3 separate regions of the Homo sapiens genome follow, and regions 1 and 2 are each linked to region 3. Evidence: promoter capture Hi-C in 16 types of primary human blood cells and fetal thymus (Javierre and others, 2016). All regions are on one chromosome and are shown on one strand. Each heading gives the region's core, a stretch centred on a gene start or on the middle of the fragment in contact. The rest is flanking DNA. Distances are from core to core; before and after follow the strand shown. Region 1 has its middle 17 kb from the start of GFI1. Region 2 has its middle 18 kb from the start of GFI1. Region 3 holds the start of GLMN (glomulin, FKBP associated protein).

Region 1 (4,797 bases), core at 2,078-4,577, 210 kb after region 3:
ATATATAACAGTTATTTTTCAATTAAAATAAAATTAAATAATATTAAAAAAACAAAACAAAGGAAAAATAGTAAGTATTGATGAAGATGTGGAGAAATTGGAGCCCTTATCATATATTGCTGGTGGGATTGTAAAATACTTCAGACACTCAAAACAGTTTGGCAATTCCTCAAAATGTTAAACATGGAATTATTGGCCAGGCGCGGTGGCTCATGCCTGTAATCCCAGCACTTTGGGAGGCCAAGGCGGGCGGATCGCGAGGTCAGAAGATTGAAACCATCCTGGCTAACACGGTGAAGCCCTGTCTCTACTAAAAATACAAAAAATTAGCCAGGCATGGTGGCAGGTGCCTGTAGTCCCAGCTGCTCGGGAGGCTGAGGTAGGAAAATGGCGTGAACCCGGGAGGCGGAGCTTGCAGTGAGCCGAGATAGCGCCACTGCACTCCAGCCTGGGCGACAGAGCAAGACTCCGTCTCAAACAAACAAACAAAAAACCATGGAATTATTATATGACCCAGCAATTCTACTCCTAGGTATATGCCCAACAGAATTGAAAACCTATGTCCACATGAAAACATGTACATAAATGTTCATTGCAGCATCATTCATCATAGGAAAGAAATGACAACAGACTAAATCTTCATTAACTGATGAATAGATTAACAAAATGAGGTATACCCATATGATAGAATATTATTCAGCAAATAAAAAGAAAAAAACAATGAAGCACTAATAGATGCTACAACATGGATGAGCCTCAAAAAATTATGCTAAGTGAAGCACACACAGAAAGCCACATATTCTATGATTCATTTATATGAAATGTCCAGAATAGGCAAATCCATAGAAACAGAAAGTAGAATAATGGTTGCCAGGGGCTGAGAAGAGGAAATGGTAAGTAGTTGCCAGTGAGTATTAGGTTTCTTTTTTCATGCTGAAAATACTCTGAAATTAGATAGTGGTGATGGTTGTACAACTCTGTGCTGTACTATGCAATTGTACACTTTAAAAGGCTGAATTTTATAGTGTGTGAATTATATCACAATAAAGCCATTGTTTCTAAAATGTACTCAGAGTACTTGTTGGCACAGAGTAAGTACTATGTTTCCAAATAGTCACTGCCCTCTCCCTGGGATGTCTTAGCATGTGACTTACCTTAGCCAATGAAATGTGCCTCTGGTCGTGCGTGGTGGCTCACGCCTGTAATTCCAGCACTTTGGGAGGCCGAGACGGGTGGATCATGAGGTCAGGAGTTCGAGACCAGCCTGGCCAACATAGTTAAACCCTGTCTCTACTAAAAATACACACACACACACACACACACACACACACACACACACACACACACACAAATTAGCCGGGCATGGTGATGCACTCCTACAGTCCCAGCTACTCGAGAGGCTGAGGCAGGAAAATCGCTTGAACCCGGGAGGCAGAGGTTGCAATGAGCCGAGATCGCGCTACTGCACTTCAGCCTGGGAGACAGAGTGAGACTCCAGCTCAAAAAAAAAAAAAAAAAAAAAAAAAAAAAAAAAAGAAATGTGCCTCGAAATGATGTATATCACATCCAGGGAGAAGTTTTGGGAACGAGCATGTGGTTCACTGTATCCCTTTGCCCTCTGCCACAACACTCAGCAATGTTCAAAATAGAAGTAGCATCATCAGCCTGGGTCCTAGAGTAAAAACAGCATAGAGCAGAGCCACAGCCAGCATTTGATGGACACACAGCATGAGTGAGAACTGATGTAAACCACTGAGATTTCAGAGTATTTGTTAACACAGTAAAATCCAGCCTATCCTGACTAATGCAGGATATTACTGTATAATAATAACTACTATTATCATTACCACTACTAGCAATCAGAAAGTAGAGACTGTTGTGCAATCACCTCAAACAATACTTCCAATGTGCCACACATGGCAAACATGTGGAGATACCATGTGGACAGAGGACACAGATGAGAAGTCAAGTCAGAAGGAACATTCACATCAATAACTCCTTACCAAGCAGGCTGTACTGGTTCTGGGGAATTCAGAGATGCCATGCACAATCTTTCTCAGGGAACTCAGCTAACAACAGCAGCTGCTGTTGATTGAACACTTACTATGTGCCAAACCCTTTAGGCTCCAGTACACGCATTGTCTCCAGTCTCACCAAAGAGCAGTTTGGTGATGAACAAGAAACGTCTCCAATTTTCACCCACAAATAAACAATTCTATTTTAGAGAAATTAGTGAAGCAAATGAAAGGTTGTGGGATCCGTTTAAAATAGCTGCAGAGTGTCAGCGGCTGTGAGCCAGACCAAACAGCACACCTTCCCACACACCCTACTTGGGCCTGTGATTACTCAAATCCCAGCACTGGCCTGGGGAGCTGCCCACCAGGAACATCCCTCCACAGCACAACTAGAAGGCAGCTTGCCAGAAAAGGGCAGAGCTGGACCTGCCTTCAGCCTCTGAATGGACTAAGAGTTAACAAGTGGAAATGCATGAAATTGTTCTTTAAAAATTTGTGCTTAACATCATGACTCCCATGCTTTGGTTTTCTACCACTTCACCCGGCAGCTTGCTTTTGTAGTTCTGGCACGAATTCAGCCGGGCCGAGGGAGCTGGGAGAGGGAAATGGCTCACGGACTCCTGGGAAGCCGAAGCTTGACCTTAAGAGTATTTGGTGGTAAGGAGGCTGCAGAGACAAATATTCATTCATGTGCTAAAGGTTTTAAAACTCTCTCTTTGTAAATGGAGCATGGTTAGTCTAATTCTGCACTCCAGTGACAGGCACAAGGACAGATGCTGGACCTTGAGACATACAAAAGTGACAAAGCAGGCTGATGAATAAGATGTCATCTCTTCTACCCACGACGAAGTCATCCTGGTTGAGGTTAGGCAGGGACACACAAAATTGTGCCTTGAATGTAGAAGTACAGCAAGCACCAACGGGGTGTATCTGTTCCTGTCCTGGGACAGGAAGGGCATAGGTGACACCAGAGACTAGGAAAGCCTCTGCTGGAGGGGAAGAGCCCCTTGGTGGGGGGGAGAGACAAGGCTTGACTGGTTTGCTGTGGAGGGGGTGGTGTGCAATGGCTGCCGTCCCGCCCTCTGAGGCAGAGGCAGGGAACAGTTAGGAGCTCCCAGGTGCATCTCAACTGCCACAGCATCTCAGCCTTGGAGTCTCTCATGTGTACAGTATGCATTTCCTTTAAAAAAAAATCAGAGAAACAACATCTTTAAAGCCAACCAGTTTCTTTCCACCTGACCCTGCTTTCTCCTGTAACTGAGGACAGCCTCAGAGAAGACGCTATGTGGTCTCTGAAAAGGTGGCCAACCGTAGGCAACAGGGGAGTGAGGACACAGCAGCCTTCTGATCTCACCGTGGACACAGTGAACTGACAGTCAGTTCAGGAGGAGTTAAAAAGTTCTCTGGGCCTGGTTTAAGATGCTCATTTTCAGACATTCTTGGTAAAATCTGGAGTGCAGGAGAGATGCAGCTATAGACCCAGTTAGGTGACATCAGCAGGTCACCTCTGAGCAGGTCATAGGGTAGGAGAGAATGGGGCGTGGTACATAAAGGTTGTGGCAGGGTCACGGGCACCATCCTGTACACAGGGTGGGGAATGGGCAGGGAGGGGGTAGGGACGCAAAATAAGCCCCTCCCCCAAGTTGAAGGTAACCTCTGAATTCCCACGGCAGTGCTTCTGTTCTCCTGTATCTCTTGCCCCATGCATGAGGGTAGGAGTTGGTCTGGTTCATCTTTGCTTCCTCAACAGTGACTGATCTGTGCCTTGTGCCAAAGCAATATTGTGTAATTAGAGGACTCTGGAGCTAGGCTGGCTGCATTGGAATCCTGGACTTTCTACTGATATTTGTATTTCACAGATGTTTACCTCGTTTCAATAATGAAGACATTGAGGTAAAATGACTTCTTCAGTTATTCATGCATTCATTCAACAAATATTTATTGAGAGCCAAGGCACTGCTGGGATAGAGATAAAAATCTCTGCACTCATAAAGCTTGCATTCTGGTGTGGAGATAAACAATAAACCAACAAATATGTAAAATGGGTAGGATGTCAGACTGTAATCACTGCTATGGAGAAAAGTAAAGCTAGGAAGAGGCTTTTTCAACGGAAGGATCAGAAAAGGCCTCCTGTGCAGGTTGAGCAGAGACCTGGTGGAGGTGGGGAGCTGCCTTGTGGTATTTAGCTGAGCATCCTAGGAAGGGCAGGGTCCTGATGGGAGTCTGGTGTGTCCATGGATCAGCAAGGAGGTCATAATTTTTTGTTGTTTGTCCAGGATTAATCAATACAAAGCTTGAGTCCCAGTCTAGTGCTCTAGTGCTAGAATTTTACGCCTAAACATTTTCTTATTTCATGGGCGCTGCAAATTTTATAACCGCAGGTTTTACTTTTTTTCCTTCTAAATATCTTTATTTGAATATCTTTAGTAAATAAGTTGACTTTAAGTTCTTTATTTCTTTTGAGATGGGGTCTTGCTATGTTGCTCAGGCTGGTCTTGAACTCCTGGGCTCAAGTGATCCTCCTGTCTTGGCCTCCCAAAGTGTTGGGATTACAGGCATGAGCCACCATGCCTGGCTGATGCTAAATTCTTAACATGCCTAGTATTTTTTTTTTTTATCATTTTAACCATTTTTAAATGCACAACTCAGTGGCATTAAGTACAATCAGTGTCATGCAGCCATGACCACTATCCATCTCCAAAACTTTTCCAGCATTCCAAACAAAAGTTCTGTATTCATTATGCCGTTAACTCTCTTCCCTCACCTCCACTGCTGGGTAATG
Region 2 (4,917 bases), core at 353-2,852, 170 kb after region 3:
ATTTAAGGATCTCCTGACCTCCAAATTCAATGCAGTTTTTAACTAAACAGTTCTGCTTCTCCAAGCTAATAGAAGGTTCCCTAGGAAAGTTCAGATCCATTTCTCACACCTGGAACCTGCCAGTCTTGGACCAACAGTGACCAGTGGAAAATAAACCTCCATATAGACCCCAGGGGGTCCTTAGTGATGTACAAAGAATAAGTGTTGTGGGTGCCCTGAAATCAAATCAGCTAAACCTTTGACACTAGCATTTGGATTGCAAAGAGTCTTCCAGTTCACTGCCCACTGGTTTTTTTGTTTGTTTGTCTGTTTGTTTGGAGACAGGGTCTCACTTTATTGCCCAGGGAATTAAAAAAAAAAAAATATCAGGGACCAGGTCTCATTATGTTGTCCAGGCCGGTCACGAACTCTTTGCCTCAAGAATTCTCCCACTTCAGTCTCCCGAGTCACTGGAATTACAGGCATGAGCCACAATGCCCAGCTCCTGGATTGAAAGAGTTTTGAAGGTCATCTGGTTCTACCTTTATTTTAAACTTTTTATTTTATGTTATTTTATATAGTACCTAAATATATCATGTAAACAATAACCATGCAAAGATGACATGCAAAAATATTACACTGTGGTGGGACTCCCTCAGCCCAGTTAAGAACCTGTTACTCTTGTTTATTAGAGTCCCATGAACAGTGGTTTTTAGTACAGGGAAAGAGGAAGTTGAGTTTGTGTGATGTCTCTGGGAAGGTATATCCAAGAGGTGAAACACAGACAATTCTACTAAAGGTTAATGAAAGGATGGTTTCTGGCTCTCCCAAAAAGTCACAAGAGGCATCCACTCAGATTTTCCTTACTCTAAGAAAAACTGAAGAACTGCTATTGCAGCAAATCTTATAAAGGCGTGCCAATCAGTTCTTCTCAGAAAGGGCAACCTAGGAAATTGTCTAATTCATGTTAAAAGACAGAATTGAAACTAGGCTTCCTACTTTACCAAAAATTAAAAAACTTCTCAATGAAGTTTGTAAAACTAGCATCAAGAAACAAACCTAACTTCCTGCTTTTGGGTCTCCTTTACAGTTAAAACAAATGCAAGCTTTAAAAAACCTTGCAAGATAGAATCCTTCCTTGAATACCAAAAAATGGACTAGCAGAGTAAAGCAGTAAGCATCATATTGTTTTGGGCAGAGTGAGTACTTTTCTCTCCTGTGTGTGTGTGTAATTCTTTTTTATCAGTAAAAGCTCATTGGAAATGAGAAAACAGCAACAGATTCCTATTAGATTAAGTTGCTTAGAGATGAAAAGATCAGGTACATGTACACCACACATACATATAGTGAAACAGTATCAGAAATTATATTTTCAATTGGAAATTTTATTTTACTTATGTCTGACTTTAAAAAGGTAAATAATATTGAATTAATGCTATTTACAAAGATATATTCCTAAAGCATAAGAACATAAAAAGATTAAAAATAAAAGGACATTAAAAATACCATGTAAAAATAGGCCAGCCATAGTGGCTCACACTTGTAATCGCAGCATTTTGAAGGCCCAAGGTAGATGGATTGCTTGAGGCCAGCAGCTCAAGACCAGTGTGGGAAATATGGTGCAACCCCATCTCTACAAAAACTACAAAAATTAGAAGGGTGTGGTGGTATGTGCCTGTGGTCCCAGCCACTCAGGAGGCTAAGGTAGAAGAATCACCTGAGCCAGGGAGGTCAGGGCTGCAGTGAGCCGAGATAGCACCACTGCACTCCAGCCTAGGCAACCCTGTCTCTAAGGAAAAAAAAAAACTTAAAAAAAAAACAACCAACCAACCAAACAAAAAACTAAAGGCAATGAGTACAATAGAATGATGATTAAAAAAGGAATAATTCACCAGGAATACGAAATAGTTCAAAATTTTATGCACCTAATAACAACCCTCAAAATAGGTAAAAGAAAAAGAGTTAACAGAATTCAAAGGAGATTTTTCTCAAGCTCACATGGAAAAAAAAAAAAGAACTTAAAGGAAAAATTTATAACTTAATAATCACCATGAGAAAGTAAAACCTATCTCTCTCAGTGATTGGTTGATTAAGCAGACCAAAATTATTTAGGATATAGAAAATTCGAACAATATAATCACAAGCTTAATCATAGTGGAACTTGCACTTGGCAATTAGAATATATACATTCTTTTCAAGCACACATTATCTATAAAAATTGACCATGGAGAAGGCCACAAAATAAATCTCAACAAATATTAGAGAATTAATATTATGCAAGTCAGGTTCTCTGATCAAAATATAATTAAATTATAAATCACTTACAAAAATTACTGAAAAAACATGTTTAGAATTTTATTTTGCAACTCTAAGCCAGAGATGTTTAGAAATTTTAAATGTACTTCTAAATAATACATCTGTCAAATAAGAAATATTGTTAGATAAGATATAGAAATGAATGACAATGAAAATATGCTGCAAAAACTAATAAAATAGGGACCTTTGGCAATATTAAAGAAAAAAGATAAAGGTACAAATGAACAATATCAGAAAGAAAAATTGAACATAATTATAGGTGGAGTAGACATTTTTTAAAAATCAGAGAACTCTATGAAATGTCTGTGGCAATTAATTTGGATACTTATAAATATGCTGATATATATATATGATACAGCATTTTTTTTTTGAGATGGAGTCTTGCTCTGTCACCCAGGCTGGAATGCAGTGGGGCGATCTCGGCTCACTGCAAGCTCCACCTCCCTGGTTCATGCCATTCTCCCGCCTCAGCCTCCCAAGTAGCTGGGACCACAGATGCCCGCCACCACGCCCGGCTAATTTTTTTGTATTTTTAGTAGAGACAGGGTTTCACCATGTTAGCCAGGATGGTCTCGAACTCCTGACCTCGTGATCCAGCCGTCTCGGCCTCCCAAAGTGCTGGGATTACAGGCATGAGCCACCGTGCCCAGCCATGATACAGCATATTTAAGAAAAAATTAAAAACCTGAATAGACCTATAGTAACTAAAACTTAAATATACCCTCCTCTTTGCTAGCCTTCATCAAAAAAATCCCAGGTGAGTTCTATCAAACATTCAGAGAACATATAATTCCAGTCCTTCACAAATTGATCCAGAAAACAGAAGAAGAAGAAATGTTACCCTGTTCATTTTGAAACATGTTAAACCTTGGGCAGCATAAGAAATAAAAATTATAAGCCAATTTCACTAGTAAGTATAATGCAAAAATCCTAAGTAAAGGTCAGCAAACCAAATCAGCAATGTTGTTTAAATGACTAAGTTGGAATTTATTCCCTCTAGGTGGGGGTTTTTTCCCCAAATAATACAAGGATAATTTAAAACATTAGAGAAAATTATAAATATAATTTGCATGTTGACAAAGGATAAAAGATTAAAAATATATTTATTCTCTCAATAGATGCAGAAAAATCACACAAAAATAATTAAATACCCATTGATTAAAAACACACATACACAAGTGGAAATTCTTACCAAATAGAAACAGAAATTCCTAATCTCATTTTTAACAAGTTATCTACCAAAAACCTACCAAAAACATCACATGAAGTTGTGAAAAACTAAAAATATTTCCCTGGAATAAGGGAATAAGACAAAGATGACTATTATTCAGCCCCTATTCAGTATAGCCCTGGCCAGTGCAGTGAGGCAATAATAAGATGGAAAGAATGAAATAAAGCTATAATCACTTGAATATCTTATGGCTATCTTACTCTGAAAATCTAAAATAATCTGCAAAAACCAAAAAAGAGGGTTCAGCAAAGTTGCAGGATACAAGATCAACATATAGAAAAATTAATTTTGTTCCCATACATCAGCAGCAATGACAAAATTCAATTTTCAAAAAAAGAACTAAGAAAATAAGTTTAAAAAGTAATTAAATTATGCAGACAATGACAAAGTGTTATTGAAAGCCATAAAAGAAGATTAAATAAGTAATCAATATACCATATTTATGTATAGGAAGAATCAATAGCAAAATAATTTCAATTCTCCCCAAATTAAATAATAAATGTAATACAAACCTAAATTCCAATAGAGTTTTTCACATGCAAGAACGAAGGGCCAAAGGTAGCCAGGATACTCCTGAAGAGGATGAAACAGGTCACAAGGCAGCCTTCCCTACTAGCTATTAAGAGTTTATTGTAACTTAAATTATTTAAGACACTATGGCTTTGGCATAGAGATAGACAAAATGACCAGTGGAACAGATCAGCAAGCCTGGAAATAGAACCATACAGAAATAGAAACTTGACATATGACAGAGGTGGCATTACAATCAGAGGGAAAAGGATGAAAATAGCAATACATAATGTTGGGATAATTGGTTATCCATTACTAATGGTGAAGAAAATTTTTAAAATTAGGTCCTACTTTATACTATACACACACAAGTGGATTAAAAAGCTAATGTTTCACGCCTGTAATCCCAGCACTTTGTGAGGCCGAGGTGGGTGGATCACCTGAGATCAGGAGTTCGAGACCAGCCTGGCCAACATGTTGAAACCCTGTCTCTACTAAAAATAAAAAATTAGCCAGGTGTGGTGGCACATGCCTGTAGTCTCAGCTACTTGGGAGGCTGAGGCAGGAGAATCGCTTGAACCCGGGAGGCAGAGTTTGCAGTGAGCCAAGATTGCGCCACTGCACTCCAGCCTGGGTGACAGAGTGAGACTCCACCTAAAAAAAAAAAAAAAAAAGAAAACCTAATGTTACAAACAGAAATTTAAACACTTTTAGAAGAAAATATAGGGAATCTAATGACCACCAGCTAGGGAAAGAGTGTAAATGATATGTAAGAAGCATAAACCATTGAGGAAAAGACTAATACATTTGATTACACACAAAAACAAAACAAGCAAACAATCCTCTCTTCAAAGTGAAAAGGCAAACCATAGACTGGGATA
Region 3 (4,628 bases), core at 1,112-3,611:
CGTCTTCCTTATAAGGAGTATCCAAAGACACAAAATTTGGCAGGATGTTGCCAACACAGTGTCCCAGGAAAAAGTTATTCCTGATCCACAAATAAGATCCTTTTCCATTGTGGAGGATGATTTCTCAAACCATTGTAACTGGATGATACTGGCTAGTATAATGACATATCGTTTTCCTCCTGTTCTGATTCTATGCACATAAAATACTGTTTTAATTAAAATTTGGTTTTCCATACACATTTGGCTGGAGGAGAATGGGCTGATCACCCAAAATGAATATTTAGCCTGCTTGATATGTATATTTCTCATTGTAAATTAATGACTCAAACACCATTTTTGGACTCCCTAAACCAGAAGTAATTCTGTTTCTTCTAAAAACTCTTTACTTCAACTATAGCAATTATTTATTTTGCCTCATTATTGTTAGTTGTTTACATGTTTATGTTTGACCAGATGGTAAAAACCTTCAAGTATATGACTGTTTCTTTTCTTTTTTTTTTTTTTTTTTCTGAGACAGGGTCTTACTCTGTTGCCCAGGCTGGTCTCAAACTCCTGGGCTCAAGTGATCTGCCTGCCTTGGCCTCCCATAACGCTGTGATTACGAACGTGAGCCACTGCGCCTGGCCTAAATATTTCTAATTCTTTTTTTGTTTTCAGTTCCCTACTGTGAAAATTTAAGTAGATTCTTAAATGTTTGATGGATAAATGACTGGATGAATAGCATCATGTGATTATTCTCTTCCCAAGACTGAAAAGTAAACACCAAGATTGTACGCACCTTATTCTTTTCATTTTGAATAATTTCTAATAGCTGGTCTGTGTGCCCTTCTTCTATGCATCTTTGCCCAGCTAACTGAAATAGGCCAAAATCCTCTTCTTTAAAGTCTTGCTCTTCTAGGATTTGCTGGCAAAAAAAAAAAAAACCCAAAAAACAAACAAAAAAAAGTATATGCAAATAAAAATTAAATACAATAACTTCTTGATTTATCTATGAAAAAAGGAAATCTGTTTAAATTCTAGATAAATGTAACGTAAATAACACACGTATCAAAATTAGGATTACCCTAATAAATACTTTAATAAGTGACCTTGAAATCTACTGTACCAGTGAAATCTATGAAAAGGATCAGGATTAAAATGTAAAAGGTTATTTAGATAAGTATGTCACCTGGAGAAATAATCCAATCTGCCTCCCCCACTCATGCTCTTTACAGGTCAAAAAAAGCAAGGATTAAAGAAGATAAACAATTTGAGTGACCACAAATATAATTAAAAACAATCTGTGCCCTTCCCATATTTTGAAAGGTATTTAATTTTACAAAAATTAATACTTACACATCTCTTTATTATAGACTGAAGTTCCTCTACAGCCATTCTTATTTCTCCTAGTTTCGATGCTAAAATCTACAAATACAAAACACACTGTTAACTATCCGTGATATTACACTTAAGTATTCAAAAGTTATGTTTCAGTGTGATAAATTATTAGTAAATACAATAAAGAAAATGGAAAGTTTTTGTTGTTGTGTTTTTTGGTCCAATAGCATGCTAGGAGAAAATGTAAAGTTTTAAAGTTGAAATGTTATTACTGAATCTTAGTATGTTTGCCTAAGAAAATAAAGTGTTTTTTTAGAAGCCCTTATTGCATGTTTTAAGTTTTCTAGGAGCATAGTTTTGAAAGCTACTTTGAAGGAAAAAAAAACAAAAAAAACCTCTCGAGCACTCCCAAGAGGCGAGGCATATACGAACTAAAGGGCTTTTAAAAAGCAAAGCACTTCTTTTCTGAAAAAAAATTTCCAAAAGGTGGACCTGAAATCAAAATTCTAATCATCAGGGGATTTTTCATTTTTAATGTCTCACCTCACAAAAATTGGGGTGCAACACAAGCTTATCTATAGGGGGTGAAGATTCAGATGCCCTCCATTCCATTTCTCTCTAGGAGTTGCAGTCCCCAAAGTGATCAATCCAGCTAGTGAAATCACTGTATCACACGGAGACAAGACAACGGCGGCCTTCAGGAGGAGACCATCGCTTCTCCTGGCGGCAAGGCTCGGCCCCAAGCCCTCAGTAGGGGCGCGAGTCAGCCCGGTCCTCAGGGCAGCGCGCTGGAAGGCGAGTGAACACCCCAGCGCGCGTGCGGGCTGCATCAGAGGAAGCCATGTCTTCCGATTCCTGCTCGCCTAGGTGGGCAGGCTCCACCACCTCGCGTGGCCTAGTCGGCCCGCAGCACCAAGTCCGCCGCGGCTCACGGCCAACCGCGAGCCCTGGCCACCCTGAACCTCTCCACAACTCCACTTACCGGCCAGAACCCTCGCCTCTCCCAGCCGCCGCCACCTCCTCCGGCGTCTTAGCCCGCTCTTCTGGCCCCGCCCCGCGCTACGCGTAGGGAGGCGGGGCCTCGGGGCGAGACGCCGGAGCGTGTCCCCGTCCGGCAGACTACTCTCCCCCATGGCGGACTTCGCTGGGCCGTCTTCTGCCGGCCGCAAGGCCGGGGCTCCCCGCTGCTCTCGAAAAGCCGCAGGTAGGAGCAAGGATCTCTTCCCACTTTTGGACCCTGAAAGCTGGGCCCCGATCTCGAGTTATAGACCGCAGCGCGCGGGCGCTCCTGAAAGGCTGCTTCAGGGGAGGGGTTCTCCCAGGTAGAGTAGGCCGAAAGCTTCCCACCGCCGTCCGCACCTCCTGGGAAAGATTTCCTGGCCGCCCCTCACCCCTTTACGCCAGTGTTCCAAGATTTCCCTCACGCGGACTGTGGCCCCAGCCTCTGAGACAAAGGACAGTGGAGGCCCCGGGAACCCAGGCCTGGGGTCCCCGGGTTTCGGGGCAAGTGACTAGGGCAGCGTTGGCAGCTGGCCTTGAACCTAGGACCGGTCCTCCTTTCCAGATTGCTTGGGTGCCCAGTTCTTTAAGGTGCCGGACTCCCCTCTTCCCCCAGAGAGGACGTTTGGCAGACGGAGAGAGGTTTCCCCTAAAAGTACCCAGATCTCAGATTTTCAGGAGTGGTTAATTAAGCAACTATGATACAGAAGAAAATTCAATCCCCAAAGAGATACATTTTAACCAAGAAAAATTAGACAGTAATCAATTTGCAAAAACAAATTGCTCTCCCTTCCTATTTCATTTTGATTTACACACGATTGGACATAAAATATGTGGAAAAGAAGAAAAGGTGGTCTACAGTTTGTTATTTGTGTAGGAATCTATCTTGTACCTAATGTGTTTGTGTAGACCTGACCTACTGCCACCATGTGTAGCTTAACTGCGGGGATGCATTTTGAGAAATAAGTTGTTAGTCGATTTCATCCTTGTGTGACCATCATCGAGTGCACTTACACAAACCTAGATGGTACAGCCTACTTACACACTAGGCTATATGGTACAGCCTATTGCTCCCAGGCTACAAACCTGCACAGCATGTTACTGTACTAAGTACTGTAGGCAACTGTATATCTAAACATAGAAAAGGTACAGTAAAAATACAGTATTTTAATCTTATGAGACCGCTGTCTGTATGCTGTCCGTCGTTTACGGAAATGTCATTATGTAGCACATGACTGTATTTTTATTGTAGGTACTAAACAGACAAGTACTTTGAAACAAGAAGATGCTTCTAAAAGGTATGACAGCTACATGGACAACTACATTGGCATATCTACTTATCTTGTATTACTTGTACCAATTTTAAAACAATAATGGTTACCTTTTTTTTTTTAGAGAAAATTATCATGAGAGGGAAGGGAAAGATCTGGGAAGGCCTATAAATTCTCACATAGACTGTTACATTCCTCTACTCCAGGCTTTAAGAAAACCAAACTAAGCACTCAGACTGCTAGTGAAGGAATGAGTGTCTGTAGAAGGTGTTTGTTTTTCACCGCTTCAGGTACACTCTCCTTTTATTGCTTTATATGCCAGAGACTCACTCTCCAAGTTTCGCTGTCACTCCAAGAAACCTTTTCTGTTCTTTGTTACATCAAGTCCAGATTTTCATTAAAAAGCTGTCTTGTACTAGTTCTGGTTCTAAAAAGGCAAGATATTACCACATATCACACAGAGTTTCTAGAAGAGGAGTAGAATGTGAAGGGGATTAAAAGCATATGTAGCTATGATTTTTATTTTGTGAAGACTCACTAATCTTATATTGGCTTTGGTCTTAATTTACTCATTCTTTCAAAAATTATTTATTGAGTATAAGATATGTCGGACCTGTGTTAGGCTCTGAAGATATGGTGAACAGAATAGACACAGTTCTTGCCTAGTGGAACAGAGGAATAAATAATAATAAATTAATTAGTTAATTAACATAAACAAATACATAATTACAAATTGTGATAAGCACTATGAAGGAAAAGACTGTGATGTTACGAGAAGGAATAACGAAGTCTAATTTAGTTGGAGGTGGGTGGCAGGGAGGTTGGCTGTGAGTTTTCAGCGAAAGCCTTATGCTGAGACCTGCGTGCTAAGTAGACATTAACCATACAAAGAGTATATAAAGACTTATGTATGTGCAGTGCAAAAAGTAGCTTGTTTCCTTTTTGAAAAGTATTGGATCAAAAGTAACAGCATTAGAAAACAGAAATTTGGCCGGATGTGGTGGCTTATGCCGGTGATCCCAGCACTTTGGGAGGCTGAGG

Evidence for each region. Contacts are between HindIII fragments. The CHiCAGO score rates a contact against its expected background, and 5 or more counts as called.
Region 1: a fragment that was not itself captured here is called in contact with the fragment with the promoter of GLMN in region 3 in 1 of 17 cell types (fetal thymus); the score reaches 6.8 in fetal thymus.
Region 2: a contact is called between a fragment that was not itself captured here and the fragment with the promoter of GLMN in region 3, in 1 of 17 cell types (fetal thymus). The highest score is 5.0, in fetal thymus.

Annotation. Positions count from the first base shown.
Region 1 is chr1:92,501,515-92,506,311 of GRCh38, forward strand. No RefSeq gene overlaps it. Among named protein-coding and RNA genes, the nearest start is that of GFI1, 17 kb to the left of the region's middle. RefSeq lists an enhancer at 2,888-3,077. The HindIII fragment of the contact is 1,360 bases long and covers 2,648-4,007 here.
Region 2 is chr1:92,466,189-92,471,105 of GRCh38, forward strand. No RefSeq gene overlaps it. Among named protein-coding and RNA genes, the nearest start is that of GFI1, 18 kb to the right of the region's middle. The HindIII fragment of the contact is 1,038 bases long and covers 1,084-2,121 here.
Region 3 is chr1:92,296,626-92,301,253 of GRCh38, forward strand. It overlaps GLMN (glomulin, FKBP associated protein), which reads right to left and starts at 2,362. Exons shown (of 19, transcript NM_053274.3): 1 at 2,300-2,362; 2 at 1,336-1,404; 3 at 779-904. The coding sequence starts at 1,374. It overlaps RPAP2 (RNA polymerase II associated protein 2), which reads left to right and starts at 2,434. Exons shown (of 13, transcript NM_024813.3): 1 at 2,434-2,521; 2 at 3,569-3,614. The coding sequence starts at 2,449. RefSeq lists enhancers at 1,460-2,356, 1,928-2,397, 2,618-2,847 and a silencer at 1,859-2,196. The HindIII fragment of the contact is 769 bases long and covers 1,886-2,654 here.